Linked DNA regions of Homo sapiens: all the other regions are linked to region 1. Evidence: promoter capture Hi-C in 16 types of primary human blood cells and fetal thymus (Javierre and others, 2016). All regions are on one chromosome and are shown on one strand. The core of a region is centred on a gene start or on the middle of the fragment in contact, and the rest is flanking DNA. Distances in the headings are between cores, read along the strand shown. Region 1 holds the start of TSPAN1 (tetraspanin 1). Region 2 overlaps IPP (intracisternal A particle-promoted polypeptide). Region 3 has its middle 23 kb from the start of MAST2. Region 4 has its middle 4.5 kb from the start of MAST2. Region 5 overlaps MAST2 (microtubule associated serine/threonine kinase 2). Region 6 overlaps MAST2 (microtubule associated serine/threonine kinase 2). Region 7 overlaps MAST2 (microtubule associated serine/threonine kinase 2).

What was found. Contacts are between HindIII fragments. The CHiCAGO score rates a contact against its expected background, and 5 or more counts as called.
Region 2: a contact is called between a fragment that was not itself captured here and the fragment with the promoter of TSPAN1 in region 1, in 1 of 17 cell types (erythroblasts). The highest score is 5.4, in erythroblasts.
Region 3: a contact is called between a fragment that was not itself captured here and the fragment with the promoter of TSPAN1 in region 1, in 1 of 17 cell types (M1 macrophages). The highest score is 6.3, in M1 macrophages.
Region 4: a fragment that was not itself captured here is called in contact with the fragment with the promoter of TSPAN1 in region 1 in 1 of 17 cell types (M1 macrophages); the score reaches 5.9 in M1 macrophages.
Region 5: a fragment that was not itself captured here is called in contact with the fragment with the promoter of TSPAN1 in region 1 in 2 of 17 cell types (M1 macrophages and M2 macrophages); the score reaches 5.2 in M1 macrophages.
Region 6: a contact is called between a fragment that was not itself captured here and the fragment with the promoter of TSPAN1 in region 1, in 2 of 17 cell types (M1 macrophages and M2 macrophages). The highest score is 5.9, in M1 macrophages.
Region 7: a fragment that was not itself captured here is called in contact with the fragment with the promoter of TSPAN1 in region 1 in 2 of 17 cell types (M0 macrophages and erythroblasts); the score reaches 6.2 in M0 macrophages.

The regions. Positions count from the first base shown.
Region 1 is chr1:46,173,581-46,176,509 of GRCh38, forward strand. It overlaps TSPAN1 (tetraspanin 1), which reads left to right and starts at 1,507. Exons shown (of 9, transcript NM_005727.4): 1 at 1,507-1,829. It overlaps P3R3URF-PIK3R3 (P3R3URF-PIK3R3 readthrough), which reads right to left and starts at 2,908. Exons shown (of 10, transcript NM_001303427.2): 1 at 2,648-2,908. The coding sequence starts at 2,891. It overlaps P3R3URF (PIK3R3 upstream open reading frame), which reads right to left and starts at 2,908. Exons shown (of 2, transcript NM_001328655.2): 1 at 2,648-2,908; 2 at 1,906-2,049. The coding sequence starts at 2,891. The coding sequence ends at 2,006. It also overlaps a transcript of PIK3R3 not described here. The HindIII fragment of the contact is 4,826 bases long and covers 1-1,978 here.
Region 2 is chr1:45,710,708-45,713,636 of GRCh38, forward strand. All of the region lies in intron 8 of IPP (intracisternal A particle-promoted polypeptide), which reads right to left. Among named protein-coding and RNA genes, the nearest start is that of TMEM69, 24 kb to the left of the region's middle. The HindIII fragment of the contact is 1,629 bases long and covers 757-2,385 here.
Region 3 is chr1:45,779,404-45,782,332 of GRCh38, forward strand. It overlaps the pseudogene RPL6P1. Among named protein-coding and RNA genes, the nearest start is that of MAST2, 23 kb to the right of the region's middle. The HindIII fragment of the contact is 2,474 bases long and covers 174-2,647 here.
Region 4 is chr1:45,797,693-45,800,621 of GRCh38, forward strand. No RefSeq gene overlaps it. Among named protein-coding and RNA genes, the nearest start is that of MAST2, 4.5 kb to the right of the region's middle. The HindIII fragment of the contact is 2,693 bases long and covers 50-2,742 here.
Region 5 is chr1:45,819,910-45,822,838 of GRCh38, forward strand. The region is part of intron 1 of MAST2 (microtubule associated serine/threonine kinase 2); the gene reads left to right. Among named protein-coding and RNA genes, the nearest start is that of MAST2, 18 kb to the left of the region's middle. RefSeq lists a silencer at 2,535-2,735. The HindIII fragment of the contact is 3,835 bases long and covers 1-2,929 here.
Region 6 is chr1:45,842,860-45,845,788 of GRCh38, forward strand. All of the region lies in intron 3 of MAST2 (microtubule associated serine/threonine kinase 2), which reads left to right. It also overlaps the pseudogene TMA16P2. Among named protein-coding and RNA genes, the nearest start is that of MAST2, 41 kb to the left of the region's middle. The HindIII fragment of the contact is 8,479 bases long and covers 1-2,929 here.
Region 7 is chr1:45,863,065-45,865,993 of GRCh38, forward strand. All of the region lies in intron 3 of MAST2 (microtubule associated serine/threonine kinase 2), which reads left to right. Among named protein-coding and RNA genes, the nearest start is that of MAST2, 61 kb to the left of the region's middle. The HindIII fragment of the contact is 495 bases long and covers 1,132-1,626 here.

The sequences.
Region 1 (2,929 bases), core at 257-2,756:
GAGAGAGTGGGCTGCACCCGCTCATCCGGGAGCCACCTAAACTGAGGTGGTGGGTGCCCTCTGGCTGCTGCTGCCTCTGGGAGCCTAGATGGGGAGGAGAATTAGGAACCTGAAGGGGGAGGGGCAGTGAAGAAGCCATCATCGCAGATACAGCTAAAAATAGCTGGAAGAGATGATGTCATCTGGTTCCCACAGCTTAGCACCCCCATCATACACACACTCGAGCACAAACACACACTCTCACAGACACAGATACACACAGACACAAGTGTGGGCATGAGTGCATGCACACACACATACTACACACTCATATAGGGGAGGGAGGCTTCTGGGTCCCAGGGCCGCAGGGGCAGGGAAGTCTGGTGAGTGTGTCTGCATGCGTGTATGTCTGTGTGTGCCTGGGTTTGCATGAGTGTGAAGGCATGTGTCTGCATCTGGGTGCTTGTGTGCTTGTGTCTGGGTGCATGCATGTTTCTGTCTGTGTTCATTTAGAGGCATGCGTATGTGTTGTTACATATATCGTGTGGGGATCTATGCATTTGTGTCTGCGTATATCTGCTTATAGTATGTGCTTGCATGCATGTGTGTGGTTGTTGCAGTATGTGTCTATGAGTTCACTTATATTTACATGTCTGCATGTGTTTGTGAACTGTGTCATGTATCTTTATATGTATGGCCCCTCTTGGGCCCTTGAGCATGGCCCAAGCACCTTCTAGCTTTGACTGATGTTCAGCAACCCCCATCCCATAACCTGAGGAGCCCAGCACCGTCTGGGCATGGTGTGTCAGTGAATTCTCTGCCTCAACCCCCCTCAGGGTCCCAGTCTCTGGCAAGAGTTGGGGTAGATAGACATAAGCACAATTCACTTTCCCTTCACAGGCAGCAAAGGACATTAGCCACACTTCCTGAACCCCAGGGGGCCAGGCCACCAAAGGTCTCAGGGTTCACTCCCTTCCCTAGCCCCTTGGGAAGGTAGCCTGGAAATGCAGCCAGATCTCGGACCGGTGCAACACGTATTAGCCCATGCATGATGCAACATATTCGAGACAGAGTCCTACAAAATGTTCCCAGCGACTAAGACACAACCCCACAGAAACCCGGTTACAGCCAGTGACACATGAGCACACACTCAGAAATCCAAATGGAAAATCCCCAGGCCAGAGAGCTTAGCACCCTCCCTACTTTCTGGGCTCAAACTCAGTCTTGCCCCACCCCTAAGCACCCCAGCTCAGCTGCCAGTTCTGGAAAACACTGACCTCAGAGAATGGTTGAAGGGCCGAAGGTAGTATGCCTTTCTCAGAATCTCACCCTTCTCCATGTTCTCCTCCTTTAGGCTGTTCCCCATCCCCCTCCTGACCTTCACTTTTCTTACCAGGGCTGATGTCCTCTCCGGCACACCCATACCCTCACAAACGCTCCTTGACACTCACAGTCAGTCACAGAGGCACATTAAATCACAAAGGCACATTCAGCCACATCTACTGATACTCCTATTCTCCCGGCCTCAGACACACACACCAGCAGCTACACCTACACGCTGACCATCACAGGCACACAGAGGCACATCCACCTCACATCCACCTCATACTTGTGTACTCTCAGGGTTCAGTCTTTCATCCTATCCCTCTCTGATCTGTGCCTCCCAATACCTTCCAAGATGTTTACAGAGACCCTTCTCCCTGTGCAGTTAGGAGTGTAAGGCAAGAGAGCCCCTACTTCATGGGGCAGATCAAGAGCTGAGACCAAAGATGGTCTATGTTGCTGACCTTGTCCTGTCCTCCTGCTGTCTTAAACTATGATCCCTGCTGCGGTCACTGAAGCCTTTCCCTGTAAGTATTCAGCCATAACCCTCCCCTCACGCCCTGCATAGTCAGCTGGTTAACACCTCTGTGTGGAATAAGGCAGTTTGAGCAGAATGACTGTATTTGTTGTTCACCACCCACACGGCCCCTAGGAGATGCAGGTCCAGGGCAAACCAAGCTTCTGGGCTAGCTTCTGGGCACTTCTAGAGGATCAGAAAAATCCCAGGTTGCCTGAGATGTCTGAGAACTGAGGAGAGGAAGGAGAGGGAAGAGTTTGAGGAAGGAAGCAGTTCTGGAAGTTCCCTGCCTCTTGGATTCAGCCCCTCCCCAAACCCTCTGCTTCCAGCCAATCCATCCTCCATTAAGGCTGTCAGCACTTTGGGGTGCCTGCCATCAGGAGTCCCCCATATATGTAGGGGTGCTATTTCACAGAGATCATCCTTTGGCGTGCCTAAACAGAACCAGGTAGGGAAATCTTCACTGGCTCTGGTTTTTTTTTTTTTTTCTTGAGACAGAGTCTAGCTCTGTCACCCAGGCTGGAGTGCAGTGGCGCGATCTTGGCTCACTGCAACCTCTGCCTCCCGGGTTCAAGCAATTCTCCTGCCTCAGCCTCCCAAGTAGCTGGGACTAAAGGCGTGTGCCACCACGCCCGGCTAATTTTTTTTTGTATTTTTAGTAGAGATGGGATTTCACCGTGTTAGCCAGGATGGTCTCGATCTCCTGACCTTGTGATCTGCCCGCCTTGGCCTCCCAAAGTGCCGGGATTACAGGCATGAGCCACCGCACCCAGCCTAGTGGCTCTGTTTTTTAAAACCCCACCCTGGCTCACAGGCCCCCTGGCTAACCTTGAGGTGGGAAGATCCACACTATGGTGGTGTCAGTGTGGGTGTTGTTGATACCCATGGCCCTGGTGGCAGGATTGATGGCTGCACTGCTGGCAGTTCGACCTCGGAGACCCTGTTGATATCTTCTGCGGCTACACTTGAACATCCTGGGAAATCGGGGCCTGGGCCAGCCCATACCTGGCCTGCGGTAGGGGGAACGCATGCCCTGGGGCCGAGGGCCACGGACAAGCCGAGATGGCCCCATGGGCACAGGGAGCTTCTGCAGTGTGCCTGGGGGGTGCT
Region 2 (2,929 bases), core at 321-2,820, 460 kb before region 1:
TAGAACTAGAAATAGTAAACATATGGATAATTATAAAAGACATTCTCAGCTGGGCGCGGTGGCTCACGCCTGTAATCCCAGCACTTTGGGAGGCTGAGGAGGGCAGATCACGAGGTCAGGAGATCATGATGGAACCCCATCTCTACTAAAAATACAAAAAAATTAGCTGGGCATGGTGGCATGCACCTGTTGTCCCAGCTACTCGGGAGGCTAAGACAGGAGAATTGCTTGAACCCGGGAGGCGGAGGTTGCAGTGAGCTGAGATTGTACCACTGCACTCTAGCCTGGGTGACAGAGCGAGACTCCGTCTCAAAACAAACAAACAAAAAAAAAAAGACCACAACTGGCTGGGTGCAGTGGCTCACGCCTATAATCCTAGCACTTTGGGAGGCCGAGGTGGGTGGATCCCGAGGTCAGGAGATGGAGACCATCCCAGCCAACATGGTGAAACCCCATCTCTACTAAAATAGAAAAGAAAAAAAAAATTAGCCAGGCATGGTGGCGGGTGCTTGTAGTCCCAGCTACTCGGGAGGCTGAGGCAGGGAATTGCTTGAACCTGGGAGGCGGAGGTTGTAGTGAGCCAAGATCACGCCATTGCACTTCAGCCTGGCAACAGAGTGAAAACTCCGTCTCAAAACAAAAAACAAAAAAAACCAGACCACAACTATGTGCTGTCTAGAAGTGCAGTTTGTAAAGACACAGAAGTAGAAGGAAAGAAGAAGATAAAATATACCATGAAAACACTAATGAAAAGAAAGCTTAGAGGCTGGGTGCAATGGCTCACACCTGTAATCCTAGCACTTTGGGAGGCCAAGGTGGGCAGATCACTTGAGGTCAGGAGTTTGAGACCAGTCTGGCCAACACGGCAAAACCCCATCTCTACTAAAAATACAAAAAGTAGCTGGGTGTGGTGGCACATGCCTGTATTCCCAGCTACGTGGGTGGTTGAGGCACAAGAATCGCTTGAACCCAGGAGACAGAGGTTGCAGTGAGCTCTGATCATGCCACTGTACTCTAGCTTAGGCGTCAGAGTAAGACTCTGTCACAAAAAAAAAAAAAAAAGTAGACTTCAGTATAAAGAATATTACCAGAGATAAAAATCAAAGAATCCATTCATTAAGAAGACATAATAAACTTAATGGGTACGCATCTAATAATGGATCTTCAAAATATGTGAAGCTAAACCTGACAGAAATGAAAGGAGAAACAGACAAATCCATAATTATAGATGGACATTCCAACACTCCTTTTTTAAAAACTGACAGAACAATTGTGCAAGTAGGACAGACAAGGGAAGATCTGAATGACACTAAAAAACCAACTTGAGGCCAGGAGTGGTGGCTTACACCTGTAATTCCAGCACTTTGGAAGGCCGAGTCGGGTGGATTGCTTGAGGTCATGAGTTCGAGACCAGTCTGGCCAGCATGGTGAAACCCTGGCTCTACTAAAAAAATACAAAAATCAACCAGGCATGGTGGCGCGTGCCTGTAATCCCAGCTACTCGGGAGGCTGAGGCAGGAGAATCACTTGAACCTGGGAGGCCAAGTTTGCAGTGAGCTGAGCAGCCTGGTGACTGAGCAAGACGACGTCTAAAAAAAAAAAAAAAAGCAACCAACTTGACTTAATGGACATTAGAACACCACATTCAACAATAGCAGAATACAAATTCTTTTCAGATGTACATGACGTATTAATAAGACAGAAGCAATACAAAATATGTTTTCTGATTATAATAGAAATAAATTAGAAGTCAATAATAAAAGATTTATCTGGAAAATCCCCACATATTTTTAAATTAAATAATGTTGTTCTTACAACCCATTAGTCAAACAAGAAATTACCAGAAAAATTTAAAAAAGAAAAAAAAGGCCGGGCACGGTGGGCTCATGCCTGTAATCCCAGCACTTTGGGAGGCCGAGGCAGGAAGATCACGAGGTCAGGAGATCGAGACCATCCTGGCTAACATGGTGAAACCCTGTCTCTACTAAAAATACAACAAAAATTAGCCAGGCGTAGTGGCGGGCATCTGCAGTCCCAGCTACTGGAAGGCTGAGGCAGGAGAATGGCGTGAACCCAGGAGGCGGAGCTTGTAGTGAGCCCAGATCACACCACTGTACTCCAGCCTGGGTGACAGAGACTCTATCTCAAAAAAAAAAAGAAAAAAAAAAAAAATATATATATATATACACACCATCCGCCTTGGGCTCCCAAAGTGCTGGGTTTACAGGCATGTGCCACCACACCTGACCTAAAAAATATTTTAATATAAATGCCAACTAATTAAAAGGCAACATATCAAAATATGTGGGATGAAATTAAAGCAGTGCTTGAAGAGAATTTACAGTTTCTATTATAGAAAAAGGAAGGTCTAAAATCGATCATCTAAGCTTCCACTTTAAGAATCTAGAAAAAAAGAGCTGAGATTGTTGGGATTTGGGGAGCGCAGTGGCTCCGAAAGATCTGTAATGCCAGTGCTTTGGGATGCCAAGGCAGGAGAATCGCTTAAGACCAGGAGTTTGAGATCAGTCTGGGTTACATAGCGAGACCCTAACCATAGAAAAAAAAAAATTCAGCTGGGTGCAGTGGCTCATGCCTGTAATCCCAGCACTTTGGGAGGCTGAGGCGGGCGGATCACCTGAGGTAGGGAGTTCGAAACCAGCCTGACCAACATAGAGAAACCCCGTCTCCACTAAAAATATAAAACTAGCCAGGTATGGTGGCGCATGCCTGAAATCCCAGCTACTCAAGAGGTTGAGGCAGGAGAATTGCTTGAACCCAGGAGGCGGAGGTTGTGGTGAGGTGAGATGGTGCCACTGCACTCCAGCTTGGGCAACAAAAGAAAAACTCCGTCTCAAAAAAAAAAAATTACTCTTTTGAGAGAGGGTCTCTTGCTGTTACCGAGGCTGGAGCACAATGGCTTGATCACAGC
Region 3 (2,929 bases), core at 161-2,660, 390 kb before region 1:
TTAGTAGAGATGGGGTTTCACTATGTTGGCAAGGCTGGTCTCGAACTCCTGACCTCAGGTGATCCACCTGCCTCAGCTTCCCAAAGTGCTGGGATTACAGGAGTGAGCCACCACGCGCGACTTGCTTTAATACTTCATAGCTGTGTAAACTAATGCTCTTTTACTGCCCATCAAGCTTTCCTACCCCATTTGTTTGGATAATAACTTGCCCCTCTTTGTCATAGGACACGTAACTCAGCCACATCTGTCATAGTATTTCATCTCCCTGGTGCAGTAATGGGTCCACAGGGCACATGTAACCCAAGAGAGCTAATCAGAATCTTTTATTGGCTTAATCTATATACTGCGAGAGAGAATCCCTCTCCTTTTTCATTGCAGGATCTTGTCTGAGATAATGTAAGCCTGGGGCTGCTGGCTACCATCTTTCCTACGGTGGAGAGAAACCAAGTAAATGAGAGAGTATTGAATAAGACAGATGCCTAGTAGTTAGTAGGCACTTAGAAAATGTTAGATTCCTTTCACCATAAGCCTTGTAAATTCAGGGCTCAGTTAAAAAATCTTACTGTTCTAGGCCAGGCACAGTGGCTTACACCTGTAATCCCAGTACTGTGGGAGGCTGAGGCGGATGGATCACCTGAGGCCAGGAGTTCACAACCAGCCTGGCCAACATGGCAAAACCCTGTCTCTACTAAAAATACGAAAATTAGCCAGACGTGGTGGCACATGCCTGTAGTCCCAGCTACTTGGGAGGCTGAAGCACTAGAATCACTTGAACCTGGGAAGCAGAGGAAGCAGAGCTGAGATTGTGCCACTGCACTCCAGCCTGAGCAACAGAGTGAGACTTGGTCTCAAAAACAAAACAAAACAAACTTACTGCTCTTGTTATTTAGCTTTGTAGATGACAAATGGTTCTTCTTGAACCTCTATTCTACCTATAGCCTTTATTTTTTATTTTCCCCAGTGAGGGAGCTAATCTAAGAGGATCCAAGGAAGTGTTAGCAGAGGAAATCTAGGAGAGGAATTTAATAGTACTGAAGACGCAGAGATAAACAAGGTAGACATAGTCCCTGTCCTCAAGGAGTTGGTCCTTTTTTTTTTTTTGAGATGAAGTCTCGCTCTGTCTCCCAGGCTGGAGTGCAGTGGTGCAATCTCAGCACACTGCAACCTCCGCCTCCCGGGTTCAAGCGATTCTCCTGCCTCAGCCTCCCAAGTAGCTGGGATTACAGGCGCCTGCCACCGTGCCCAGCTAATTTTTTTGTATTTTTAGTAGAGATGGGGTTTCGCCATGTTGGTCAGGCTCATCTCGAACTCCTGATGTCAGATGATCCACCCGTCTCAGCCTCCCAAAGTGTTGGGATTACAGGCGTGAGCCACCACACCCGGCCGGAGTTAGTACTTTAAGGGGGAGATAGATAATGACAACACCATACACAAAATGCAATGATTGAATTGTGTATTGGAGTCTGTGGGTGGGGCGGGTGAAATCATGGAGAGATGCAGGGCAGGAGAATGAAACTTTGGTCTGCATAACTGCATGCTCTATCTGCAGCACTAGCAAAGAAAAGTTCTCCAGGCAGCTGATGCTTTGATACCACATGTAAGTGCCCAGCTTCTGTTCTGCAATATAGACTGCTGCGGTGTTGACTCCTGCTAATGAGGACCTCTGAACTTTCTCTACAAATATTGTCTTTCCAGAAAACAGAGCTGGGAGACCTGTATAGCCCAAAGGCAGCTATGGCTCCCAGGGAGGAGAAGAGGACCAGAAGAACTGGTGGCAGGGCAGAGAGGGGAACCAGGCAGGAGACAGCAGTGGCTGGAGAACAGGTGTGGGCAGACTGGAAGAAATGCAGACACTTGTTTCCCATCTTGCAAGATGGTGGGTGAAAAAGTTGAGAAGCCAGATGCTAAAGAGAAGAAACCCAAAGCCAAGAAGGCTGATGTTGGTGGCAAGGTGAAAAAGGGTAACCTCAAGGCTAAAAAGCCCAAGAAGGGAAAGCCCCATTGCAGCCGCAACCCTGTCCTTGTCAGAGGAATTGGCAGGTATTGCCGATCTGCCATGTATTCCAGAAAGGCCATGTACAAGAGGAAGTACTCAGCCGCTAAATCTAAGGTTGAAAAGAAAAAGAAGGAGAAGGTTCTTGCAACTGTTACAAAACCAGTTGGTTGTGACAAGAATGGCGGTGCCCGGGTGGTTAAACTTCGCAAAATGCCTAGATATTATCCTACTGAAGATGTGCCTCGAAAGCTGTTGAGCCATGGCAAAAAATCCTTCAGTCAGCACGTGAGAAAACTGCGAGCCAGCATCACTCCCGGGACCATTCTCATCATCCTCGCTGGATGCCATAGGGGCAAGAAGGTGGTTTTCCTGAAGCAGCTGGCTAGTGGTTTGTTACTTGTGACTGGACCTCTGGTCCTCAATCGAATTCCTCTACGAAGAACATACCAGAAATTTGTCATTGCCACCTCAACCAAAATTGATATCGGCAATGTAAAAATCCCCAAACATCTTATTGATACTTACTTCAAGAAGAAGAAGCTGTGGAAGCCCAGACACCTGATGTTGTTGGTGGATAGGAATGCTAGTGCTTTCTGCTAGTGATTGATTTTGTATCCTGAAACTTTGCTGAAGTTGTTTATCAGCTTAAGAAGCTTTTGGGGCCAAGCGAGGTGGCTCACACCTGTAATTCCAGCACTTTGGGAAGCCGAAGTGGGCGGATCACGAGGTCAGGAGATCGAGACCATCCTGGCTAGCATGGTGAAACCCCGTCTCTACTAAAAATACAAAAAATTACCTGGGCATGGTGGTGGGCGCCTGTAGTCCCAGCTACTCAGGAGGCTGAGGCAGGAGAATGGCATGAACCTGGGAGGTGGAGCTTGCAGTGAGCTGAGATAGCACCCCTGCACTCCAGCCTGGGTGACAGAGCGAGAC
Region 4 (2,929 bases), core at 146-2,645, 380 kb before region 1:
CCTGGGAGATGACTGTGCTTTGCATGGGACATGAAAAAGTGAAGGACTAAGCTTCAATTATGGGAACTCTGGCCTGGGCATCCTTGACTGAGCTTAGTACTGAGGGAAATTGTCCTCCTTCAAAAAAATCTCTGTTGAATCAGAAGGACCTTTCTTGAAAGTAATGTTATGTGGTTTGTGTTAGTCTGCTTGGGCTACCATAACAAAAGAACACAGATTAGGTGGCTTAAACAACAGAAATTTATTTTTTTCACAGTTCTAGAGGCTGAACATCCAAAATCAAGGTTCTAGCCAATTTGGATTCTGGTGGGGGCACTCTTCCTGGCCCATAGACAGCTGTCTTCTCACTATGTTCTCACATGGCCCTCCTCAGTACATGTGCCTCGAGAGAGGGTGAGTGCTCTGGTGTCTCCGCTTATAAGGACATTAATCTCATAGGATTAGGGCCCTACCCTTAAAACCTCATTTAAGTTTAATTACTTCCTTAGAGGCCTCATCTCCAAATACAGCCACACTAGGTGTTAGGACTTTGACGTACAAATCTGGGGGAGACACAAACATTCAGTCCATAATATGGTCCCAGGGAGCAAAGATGCCAATGGACTGATCTAATTATAGCTGAATTTGGCTATGGAAGTTGGACTGATCTTCCTGAAGTAGATTTCAAAGACAGCCACAAGTTCTTCCCCTCCCTGAATCTATTCCCCCTTGCCATGTAACTTTAGTCCCTGGCCACACTGACTTGCTTTGGCAATGACACAGTTGCTAATGTGGCATCAACAGAGATTTGAAAAGTGCTTTCACATTGCGGCTCGCTGTCTCTTCCTCCTCACAGGACCCCCTACCACTGCTGTCATGTGAAGAAGTCCAAGTAAGCCTGAAGGATGGTGAGAGCTATATGGGTTAGTCATTCCCACTGCCATGGCCAATGGCCTGCCAATTGCCATATGTGTGACAGAAGCCATTTTAGATGACTTAGCCACCAGCCAGCCAGCCCTCAGCCGACTGCAGATGCATAAGCAAGCCTAGCAGTGATTAGATAAACTGGACCAGACCATAAGAACTGCCCAGTTGGCTCACAAAAATGTCAGCTAAATAAATGGTTGTTGTTTTAAGCCACAAGTTTTGAGACAGTTTGTTATATGACAATAGATAACTGCTATACTTACCTTTTTTTTTTTGAGACAGGGTCGCATTCTGTCACCCAAGCTGGAGTGCAGTTGTGTGATCTTGGCTGACTACAACCTCCATCTCCCACGCTCAAGTGATCCTCCCACTTCAGCCTCCTGAGTAGCTGGGACTACAGGCATGTGCCACCATGCCCAGCTAGTTTTTGTATTTTTTGTAGAGATGGGGTTTTGCCATGTCACCTAGGCTGGTCTCAAAAATCTTGAGCTCAGGGGGGAGGGGGAAGGGATAGCATTAGGAGATATACCTAATGCTAAATGACGAGTTAATGGGTGCAGCACACCAGCATGGCACATGTATACATATGTAACTAACCTGCACATTGTGCACATGTACCCTAAAACTTAAAGTATAATAATAATAATAATTTTAAAAAAAATCTTGGGCTCAAGTGATCATCCCACCTTGGCCTCCTAAAGTTCTGGATTACAGGTGTGAGCCACGGTGCCCAGCCCATACTTAACTTTTAGAATATAAAACAATTTTGGAGTTCTTAGATAATTAAGGAGGAGATACTAGGCTTCCTAATAATATGACATAAGGGGCCTAACTAGAATAAGGAAAAGTAATGTGATCACATTTATATTCTAAGAGTATGGTATTGTTCATATCGGTTAAACATCTAACTATGGGTGGCCCTCAGTTCTGAGCTCTACACTGGTGTAACCAGTAGCTTACTAGACATCTTCACTTGGATATCTCACTGGCACTTCAGAGCAAACACATCTAAAATGGAATTGACCATAATCTGTTTCACACTTTTTTTCCCTCTTCTGTTCCCTACCTCAGTTGTCCAAGCCAGAAACTTGGAAATCATTCTTAGGGCTTTTTCTTTCTCTCTGCACCTTTGATGCAGTTAACAGGTCCTGTGGTTTCTACTTTCTGGATCTCTCTAAAGTCCACCTGTGTTCGTCCGTCCCCGTTATCATTGTCTCAGTACTAGTCACTAACACCTCTCCCTCAGCTAATTATAATATCCTACTAATTTGCACAGGATTTGCCAGTGGAGTGGATATGAAGTATGTGAGAAAGAGAGAACTCAGGGATCACTCCGAGGTTTTGGCCTGAGCAACTGAAAAAAAAAATTGACTTGTCACTTATTGAGCTGGTGAAGACAAGTATAAAAGTGGATGTGGGGCCGGGCGTGGTGGCTCACGCCTGTAATCCCAGCACGTTAGGAGGCCGAGGTGGGCAGATCACCTGAAGTCAGGAGTTCAAGACCAGCCTGGCCAACATGGAGAAACCCGTCTCTACTAAAAATACAAAAATTAGGCGGGTGCAGTGGCATGCGCCAGTAATCTTAGCTACTTGGAGGCTGAAGCAGGAGAATCACTTGAACCTGGGAGGCGGAGGTTGTGGTAAGTGGAGATTGAGCCATTGCACTTCCAGCCTGGGTGACAGAGTAAGACTCCATCACAAAAAAAAAAAAAGAAAAAAAAAGTGGATGTGGGCCACATTGTGTCACATTGCCATTTCTGGCTGATGGGAGGCTGAGAAAGTATCTGGCTGTATTAGTTTTGTATTAACATGTAATACAAATATATAATTACCACAAGCTTAGAAGCTTAACATAACATGCATTTATTATCTCACAGTTTCTGTCTAGATTTGTGTTAGCTCGGTTCTTTGCTTCAGGGTCTCATCAGGCTTCCACCAAGTTGTGTGGGCTGTGTTCCCATCTGGGTGCTCAACTGGAGAAGGGCCTGTTTCCAAGCTCAGTCTCACTGTTAGGAGAACTCAT
Region 5 (2,929 bases), core at 217-2,716, 350 kb before region 1:
AACTGGAGAAATGACATTACCTGACTTGAAATGATACTAGAAAGCTATGGTAACCAAAACAACATGGTACTGACATAAAAACAAACAGAGACCAATAGAACGGAATAGAGAACCCATTAATAAATCCATACATTTACAGTGAACTGGTTTTTGACAGAGGTGCCAAGAACATACTTTGGTAAAAGGACAGTCTGTACAATAAATGGTTCTCGGAAAACTGGAAATCTATATGCAGATATCTACATGCAGAAGAGTGAAACTAGATCCCTATCTCTTCCCATATACAAAAATCAAAAATGTATTAAAGATTTAAATCTTAAACTGCAAACTCTGAAACTACTAAAAGAAAACTTTGGGGAAACTTGCTAGGACATTGGTTTGGGCAAAAATTTCTTGAGCAATAAATACCCCACATGCAGAGGCAACCAAAGCAAAACTGGATCAAGGGGATCTTTTCTCACTTCCTTTTGTGTGTGTTTTTTAGAATTTTTTTTTGGTTGCTATGGGGATTACATGTAACATACTAAATTTATAACAGTCTAGTTTGAAATGGTACCAGTTTAACTTCTGTAGTATACAAAAACTTTATTCCTGTATAGCTCCATTTCCTTGATAAGTTGTTTTTGTGGCAGATTACATCTTTATTCATTGTGTGCTAAATATCATAGATTTATAATTTTTTAATGCTTTTGTCTTTTAAGTCATATAGGGAAAAAAGGTGGAGCTGAAAAACAAAAATAGAATAATACTGGCTGTGATATTTGTCCATATGGTTACCTTTGCTGGGGATCTTTATTTTTTATTTTTTGGATCTTCATTTTTTCAGATGGCCTTAAGTTTCTGTTTAGTGTCCTTTCATTTCAACTTGAAGATGCCTTTTAGGATTTGATGTAGAACATATGTAGTGGTGATGGACTCTGTCTGCTTTTTTTTTTTTTTTTCTTAATCTGAAAATGCCTCGATTTCAATTTCTCTTTCTTTCTCTTTTTTTTTTTTTTTTTTTTTTTTGAGTCAGAGTCTTGCTCTGTTTCCCGGGCTGGAGTGTAGTGGTGCAATCTTGGCTCACTGCAGTGTTGACCTCCTGGGCTCAAGCAATTTTCTTGCCTCATCCTCCTGAGTAGCTGGGACCACAGGTACATGTCACCATGCCCAGCTAACTTTTATGTGTTTTGCAGAGACAGAGTTTCGCCATGTTGCCCAGGCTGATCTCAAACTCCTGGGCTCAAGCAATCTCCCTACCTTGGCCTCCCAGAGTGTTGGGATTACAGGTGTGAGCCACTGCACCCAGCCTTTATTTTTTCCTCATTTTTGAAGGACAGTTATGCTCAAGATAGAATTCCGTATGTCATCCTACTCACTTCTGGACTCCACAGTTCTGATGAGATATGAGCTGTTCGTCTGATTCAGGATCTCCTGTATTTGACAAGTTGCTTTTCTCTTGCTGCTTTGAATATTATTTCTTTGCCATTGGCTTTGACAGTTTGGTTATCATGTGTCTCCATATGAACCTTTTTGAATTTAACCTGCTTAGAAGTCACGGAGCTTCTTGGATGTGTAGATTTGTATCTGTCATCACATTTGGGAAGTTTTGGTATGTTATTTCTTCTTTTTTTTTTTTTTTTTTTTTTTGAGACAGAGTCTCGTTCTGTTACCCAGGCTGAAGTGCAGGGCAGGATCTTGGCTCGCTGCAACCTCTGCCTCTTGGGTTCAAGTCATAACTGTGCCTCAGCCTCCCGAGTAGCTGGAACTACAGGCATGCACCACCACGCCAGCTGATTTTTGTATTTTTATTAGAGACGGGGTTTCACCATGTTGGCCAGGCTGGTCTCAAACTCCTAACCTCATGATCTGCCCGCCTTGGCCTCTCAAAGTGCTGGGATTACAGGCGTGAGCCATGGTGCCCGGCCTCTTCACATGTTCTTACTGCCCCCTTCTCTTCTAGAATTCCCATATTCATATATTGTTTCACCTTCACCTTTTTTTTTTTTTTTTTTTTGGTGACAGAGTGTTGCTCTGTCACCCAGCCTGGAGTGCAGTGGTGTGATTTCTGCTCACTGCAACCTCCACCTCCCAGGTTCACGCGATTCCTGTGCCTCAGCCTCCCAAGTAGCTGGGATTACAGGCACGTGCCATCACGCCCAGCTAATTTTTGTATTTTTAGTAGAGATGGGGTTTTGCCATGTTGGCCAGGCTGGTCTTGAACTCCTGACCTCAAATGATCCACCCACCTCAGCCTCCCAAAGTTCTGGGATTACAGGCATGAGCCACCGTGCCTGGCTATTTTCAGTGTTTTAATCTTGATGCTGCTTAGTGGGTCTGTTCAATTTGTGAAAATTCATTGAGTTCTATGCTTAGGTATGTGTACTTTTCTAAAATGAGTAATGTACTTCAGTAAAAGTTAAAAATCCTAGCTTAAAAGTTCAAATTTCATATTTAATTTATATTTCCTTTCCTTTGCCAGGTTTTGACTCGAAGAGACTTGCAGTAAGAAGGGGTGTGATCCTCTCTTTCTTTTCTCCTCTCCTCTGTTATCTGGTTTCTTTACTTTGGTGTCTTGTGGGAAGGAATAGGGAAATTGAAAAGTGTATGTGTTTCTCTTAATTGGTACTGATCAAATTCTTTCTTGATTGTTCTTTCTCTGGCTAAGACGGATTATTCATCCATACAGTGTAGCAGGCATCCAAATGCTGGTTCTCCCATGCAGCTGGTTGTAAGTTTTTTTGAGATAGGATCTTTCCCTCTCCACATTGTCTTCATAGAGGATATCCACTTTAGCTTGATGTCTTCCAAGGCCTCCTCAGTTCTCTCTACCTAGAGCTTCTTGCTGTGCTTGTCACCTTTGTGAGTGGCCAACCCTCTTTAATGGATTACCAGCATTAGTCCAAAGTCTGCTTCCTTCCCTGGTTTCTCCTTGATCCATAGGTACTGT
Region 6 (2,929 bases), core at 210-2,709, 330 kb before region 1:
TGTTTTCTGTAATAGCTTACCATTTTACAGTTCCACTAGCAATGTACTGAAGGTTTCAGTTTCTCTATATCTTTGTCAACTTGTTATATTCCATTTAAAAAATTATTGTTTAGTTATACTATCCTGGTGAGTATGAAGTGGTACCTCATTGTGGTTTTGATTTGTAGTTCTGTAATGACTAATGATGTTGAGCATCTTTTCATGTGTTTTTTGACCATTTATATATCTTCTTTGGAAAAATGTCTATACAAGTCCTTTGCCCATTTTTTTTAATTGAATTTTTTTGTTGTTTTAAGTTTGTTATATATTCTGGGTATTAGACCCTTAGTTATATGATTTCCAAATTTTTTTCCTGTTCTGTGTGTTGTCTTTTTAGTTTGTTGGTAATGTCCTTTGAAGTTTAAAAATGCCCTTGATGAAGTCTAACTTATCTGTGTTTTTCTGTTATTGCTTATGCTTTTGGTTTCATATCTAAGAATCCATTGCCAGCTCCAAGGTCATGATTTACTTCTGTGTTTTCTTCTATGAATTTTATGGTTTTACTTCTTATATTTACTTCATCGACCCATTTTGAGTCAGTTTTTATATTCAGTGTGAGGCAAGAGTTTATTTTTTTGCATGTGGATATCACTTTTTAGGTATCCTTTCAAGAGTTAGATGTCCAGAGTAAAGTACAGCAGTTTAGGGCTATAGATGTGGACTTGGAAGCTGTGGATTAAATCACCATGGGAGAGAGTAAAGAGAAATAAAAGGAATGTAGGGGAACATGAAAAAATTACATGTGAAAGGATAGATAATGTTAGACAGTGAAGTATTCAACTTAGATAAGAACTGTAGGAGTTTAGATAAAGTGCATTCACTTGAGAATTGCTGTCCTTTTCACTCTTAGTTTTTCTTTTTGTAAGAGGAACTTGTTTCTAATGCCATCTAGTGTCTTTTGAAGGGTATATGAGTAATGTTAAGAGGTTTTAAAATAAAAGTTTTGAAATTTCATGAGACTTGAGCAGTATATTGGCAGTCTTAGCTTACTCTCAAGAGCATCCTTAAGAGAGAAGTAAAAGAACACATTAAATACTTTGCCTGAACAAATTCGGAGCTGAATTTCATCTTGAATAGTTAAGCATTTTTATCATCTCTTTTGTGTTAATTTGTAAAGAATTTAAGATACCTTAAAAATAGTGACGTCAAATTTTTTTCTTATCTTGAATTTGTCTTACAAAAATTATAGACAGCCTTACTTTTTTTTGTTTTTGTTTTTGAGACAGGATCTTGCTCTGTCACCCAGGCTGGAGTGCAGTGGTGCAACCTTGGCTCACCGCAGTGTCAACCTGCTAGGGTCAAGTGATTCTCCTGCCTCAGCCTCCTGAGTAGTTGGGACTACAGGCATGGGCCACGATGCCTGGCTAATTTTTATTTTTATTTATTTTTAAACTTTTATTTATTTATTTTTTGAGACAGAGTTTCACTCTTGCTGCCCAGGCTGGAGTGCAGTGACTCACTGCAACCTCCGACTCCCAGGTTCAAGTGATTCTCCTGCTTCAGTTTCCTGAGTAGCTGGGATTACAGGCGCCTGCCACCATGCCCAGCTAATTTTTTGTATTTTTAGTAGAGATGGTGTTTCACCATGTTGGCCAGGCTGGTCCCAAACTCCTGGCCTCAAGTGATCCACCTGCCTCGGCTTCCCAAAGTGCTGAGATTATAGGTGTGAGCCACCGCGGCCAGCTTAATTTTTATTTTTAAACTTTTTGTAGAGGTGGGATTTTACAGTGTTTCCCAGTTTGGTCTCGAACCCCTGGGCTCAAGCAATCCTGCCTCAGACTTCAAACTATCGGGATTACAGTTGTGAGCCACTGCACCTGCCAAGCATCTAAATTTTTAAAAGGCATTTAAAATAAAAAATTTTTTTAGATAAATTTGTTGGTTGATTGGTTTGTTCGTCCGTTTTGTGCTGCTATGACAGAATACTCGAAACTGGGTAATTTATAAGGAATCAAGGTTTATTTCTTAGAGTTCTTGGGGCTCAGAAGCCCAAGATCAAGGTACCAGCATCTGATGAGGGCTTTCTTGGTGTTTCCTCACGTGGCAGAAGGTGGAAGGGCAATAGAGAAGAAATCCATTCCTGTAAGCCCTTTTTATAGTGACATTAATCCATTCATGAGAACAGAGCTTTCATGACTTAAACACCTCTCAAAAGGCCAAATCTCCCACCACTGTTGCATTGGAAATTAAATTTCCAGCACATGGATTTTGGGGAACACATTCATACCATAGCAGTTGAGGTTACAGAAAGAGATCTTACTGAATTTGTTGATGGTTAGAATACATGGGAGAACGTTTATGCAAGTTTTTGGTAAGGTGTCATATATGTCAAGGAGAACGGCATTATTAAACCACTAGTAAAAAGTTATAAGAGCAGGTTTTGTTTTTACTCTTATACAAAAAATATCAGTGCTAGTCTTTTTGTTTTTTTCCTTTTTCTTTTTTGAAATTGCAGAAATAAATTTTATTTTTAATTTTCAGAGGTTAAAAAAAGTTATGATACTTTAAACTGTTAACAAGACTTAGTTGATATCCAGTTAACCTAATACAGCATTAATGTTTTTATTATTTTCTTGAAGAGACTCAAATACACCTGCATTGTGCTCTTTTAAAAACATATTAAGGATACTTGTATTTAACAAGTTTTTTAGGAAAAACATTGTACAACATTTATGTTTTTCATGATGCTGAAAATGCTGAATTACATGTCAATTTAATTTATCTCTTAGAAGAAAAAGTAACATAATTAAAATCACTGGGTCTCTAATCTTTAGTTCTCTCTCCACAAATAAAACCTGTCACTTTTCACAATAAAAAAGCAAAAAATAATATACAATTAAAAGGAGCTAAACTGAAATTCTTTATCCTCTTTTTCCTTTTTTGAGACGGA
Region 7 (2,929 bases), core at 129-2,628, 310 kb before region 1:
CATCCCTATCTCAGTGGTTGGCAAAATAAATGGTTCTTGAATTAGTAAATGAATAAAGAGTTTGAATTTTGAATCTTTTGTCTGAATAGCTTCTCAGAATGCATCTTTTTTATATTTTTACTGATTACCGGGTTGAATAAATTAGAAGCCACTCCTACTTCCTCTCTGCTGATACATATGTTTTAGCTAGTTAAACCTATTTTGATAGAGGAGTTCTATGACTTTAAAGGCCTATGACTTTGCAGACACTCATACAGTGTACAGCATACCCTATGCAAATCAGCTGTCTGTTCAGGTCTTGTGTTTGTTTTCCCCATAGACATAATCCAGCCGTTAGTTATTCAAAGCAGCAGATGGGAGAAGGAATCCGTGGAAATGTGGATTTATTAGCTCTCACAATGAAAGACCACACTGGTTATGCTAAGGATTAGAAGATTTCTGCTGAATGAAAGGGACATGGATCCTGTTTTTTGTGCTATTTTCAGCAGTGTGGCAATTTCTTATGACTATAATCAGTTGTAAAAAGACCAGAAAATGATCTTGTAAATAGACTTTCCTTCAAGCCCTAGACTGTTGGTTGCAGCTGTCATAATTATAGGAGGGACTGCTTTTCTTCCTTTTTGGGTGCAGACTGAATCTGGCCTTTAGCTATTGCTATATTTACACCTTAGGTAGTATAACTGGCTGATTGTGTGCTTTATACATACCTTTATCTGTCAAATTAGGGAATTTGGATTCGTGTCTCCTGAATTTTGTAGGAGAGTAATTATTGTAGCATGTCTTATAGTTTGGAAAAAATGATTGAATTTAATGTGTTAAACTCACTTCCTAAAAATATAATGCTGCCTTCACTAACAATTTTGTGTGTGTGACTTGTTAGAAAGATCAGCAACTTTCCTTTGTGTTTACTAAGATTCTGACAATTACCATAAAGTTGGAAAGTTTAAACGTTGCTTATGGAGTGTGTAAGGAACAGAATCATATCATGAGAACAATCTTTCACTCTTAAAATCTAAAAGATTATGTATTTTGAGCCATGAATTAAGAAACAGAAGCATCTTTAAACTTGGCTGAAGTTCTACTTTAAAAATGGCAGCCAGTAACCAAAGAAACAATTCTTGAGATCATTAAAGCTTGGATAAAATGAGACTTTTTCATGCTGTGCCCTTTTAGAAGTCTGGGGGAATGGGGAGCGTTTCCTGTGACAGCACTGTAAGTGATAAACAGCTGAATGAATTTGTCCATGCTCAGAACTCACAACACGTGGACTAGCCCCCTCCTGCACATAAAAGAGCAGGGAAACCGACCTTAGCAATGATCTAGCTCCTGAAGAAAGAGGCTTTCGTTACTGTCCAAGAAGTGAAGACCAGTGAGTCTAGCGATAAAGAAACAAAAGAGCCCCTGACAGTATCGAAAGAATCTGACATTTGCTTTGTCTGTACAAAGGATGAAAGGAATTTTGCCGACTTAGTCAAAACAATAACTGGTTTTATATCATTTTGAGTCTAAAATACAGGCATCAGAATCGTATGTTTTTCTTTGTATTTCTGAAGAATTGTCATCTTTTTAAAAACGTATGTGGAGTGGTTTTGTTTCTGGAAAGGAAAACGTGACATGGATTTTATAAGCTTAGTAGCTGTAGGTGGAGACTCTTGTTTTGTTTGCTAAACCTTTTTAATAAGCAGCAAAGTCAGGATATCAAAGATTGGAATTTTTCCCCCGGAACCTTTTGTTCTTTTCTTAGTACTTCAAATAATTTCAACCAAAGGGGTATGCATGGAAAATGAAAACAAATATGAAGTCTTTCCGCTATTTGGCAGTGCTTCAGATGAGATGTATCTATACTTCTGTGAAGAAAGACGTGATTCTGATATGAGGCAGTGATTGTATACTTACGCTGGACAGAGGGATAACTGGTTTAGTGGAACAGTGGGTTAGTGGTGTGCTGAAAGGATTGTTTGCCTCTTTATCCAGCAGTAAGTAGGCACTAGTAGTTGACTGTCTGGGGAGTGGCTTTTTTTTGTCTGATATCTATTATGGATGATTCCAGTATTCTGAGAAGGAGAGGGTTACAGGTGAGTAAAAGAAAACCTTTTTCACTGATCTCCTTCCTTTTAATGTCTCTTGTAAATGTACTGAACAGATTGTTATAATGTATTTAATTCATTTGAGGTAGGAGGCAGAGTGGAGTGCAGCTAAGTTCCTCTTTATTCTTTGATGTATAGTTATAATTAGAGAACTTATCTAAAATCTTGCTATTTTGATAGAAAAATGCTGCTTGGGCTTATTTACACTGTATTTAGTGAGTAGAGCAACTAAATCAGACCTGTATGGGATACAAGCCTAATTTAGAACATTAGACATTACTGCTGACAGATTGTTTACGGTGAACATATTCTGTTCCTGACCACCATGCCTGATCTGCCCACCATTAAGTCACATGTATGGTAGTATATGCTTGATTCTATGCATAGTTTTAAGAACTTTTCTAAATTATCACTTGGCATATACACATTCCATCCACTTATCTATTGTCTGTCTGTGTTGTCTGTCCATCCATCCGTCTGTCTGTCTACCTACCTACCTACCTACCATCTTTTCCTTCTTAAATCATAGGTAGTTTGTTAGATGAAGAGGTATGTAAGATATAACAGTGAATGAAAATAGACTGATAGGCAACCTTCAACTGAGTTTTAATGAATATCCTTAGCACTAAAAGAATACATGCCAAATTTGATGATTATTTTTTTCATGCTTTGTAGATTATCTCATCTTAGTCTTGTTAGCAAAGAGCAAGCCAGCTTCTAGTCTATCACTAAATGTTTTTGAGAATTGACATAATGAAGATTCTAGTGTAAATCACTGAGCTAATCAATCAACCTGTGATGGTTTAGTCATGAAATGTAGCTATTTCTGTTGTTTTCATTTT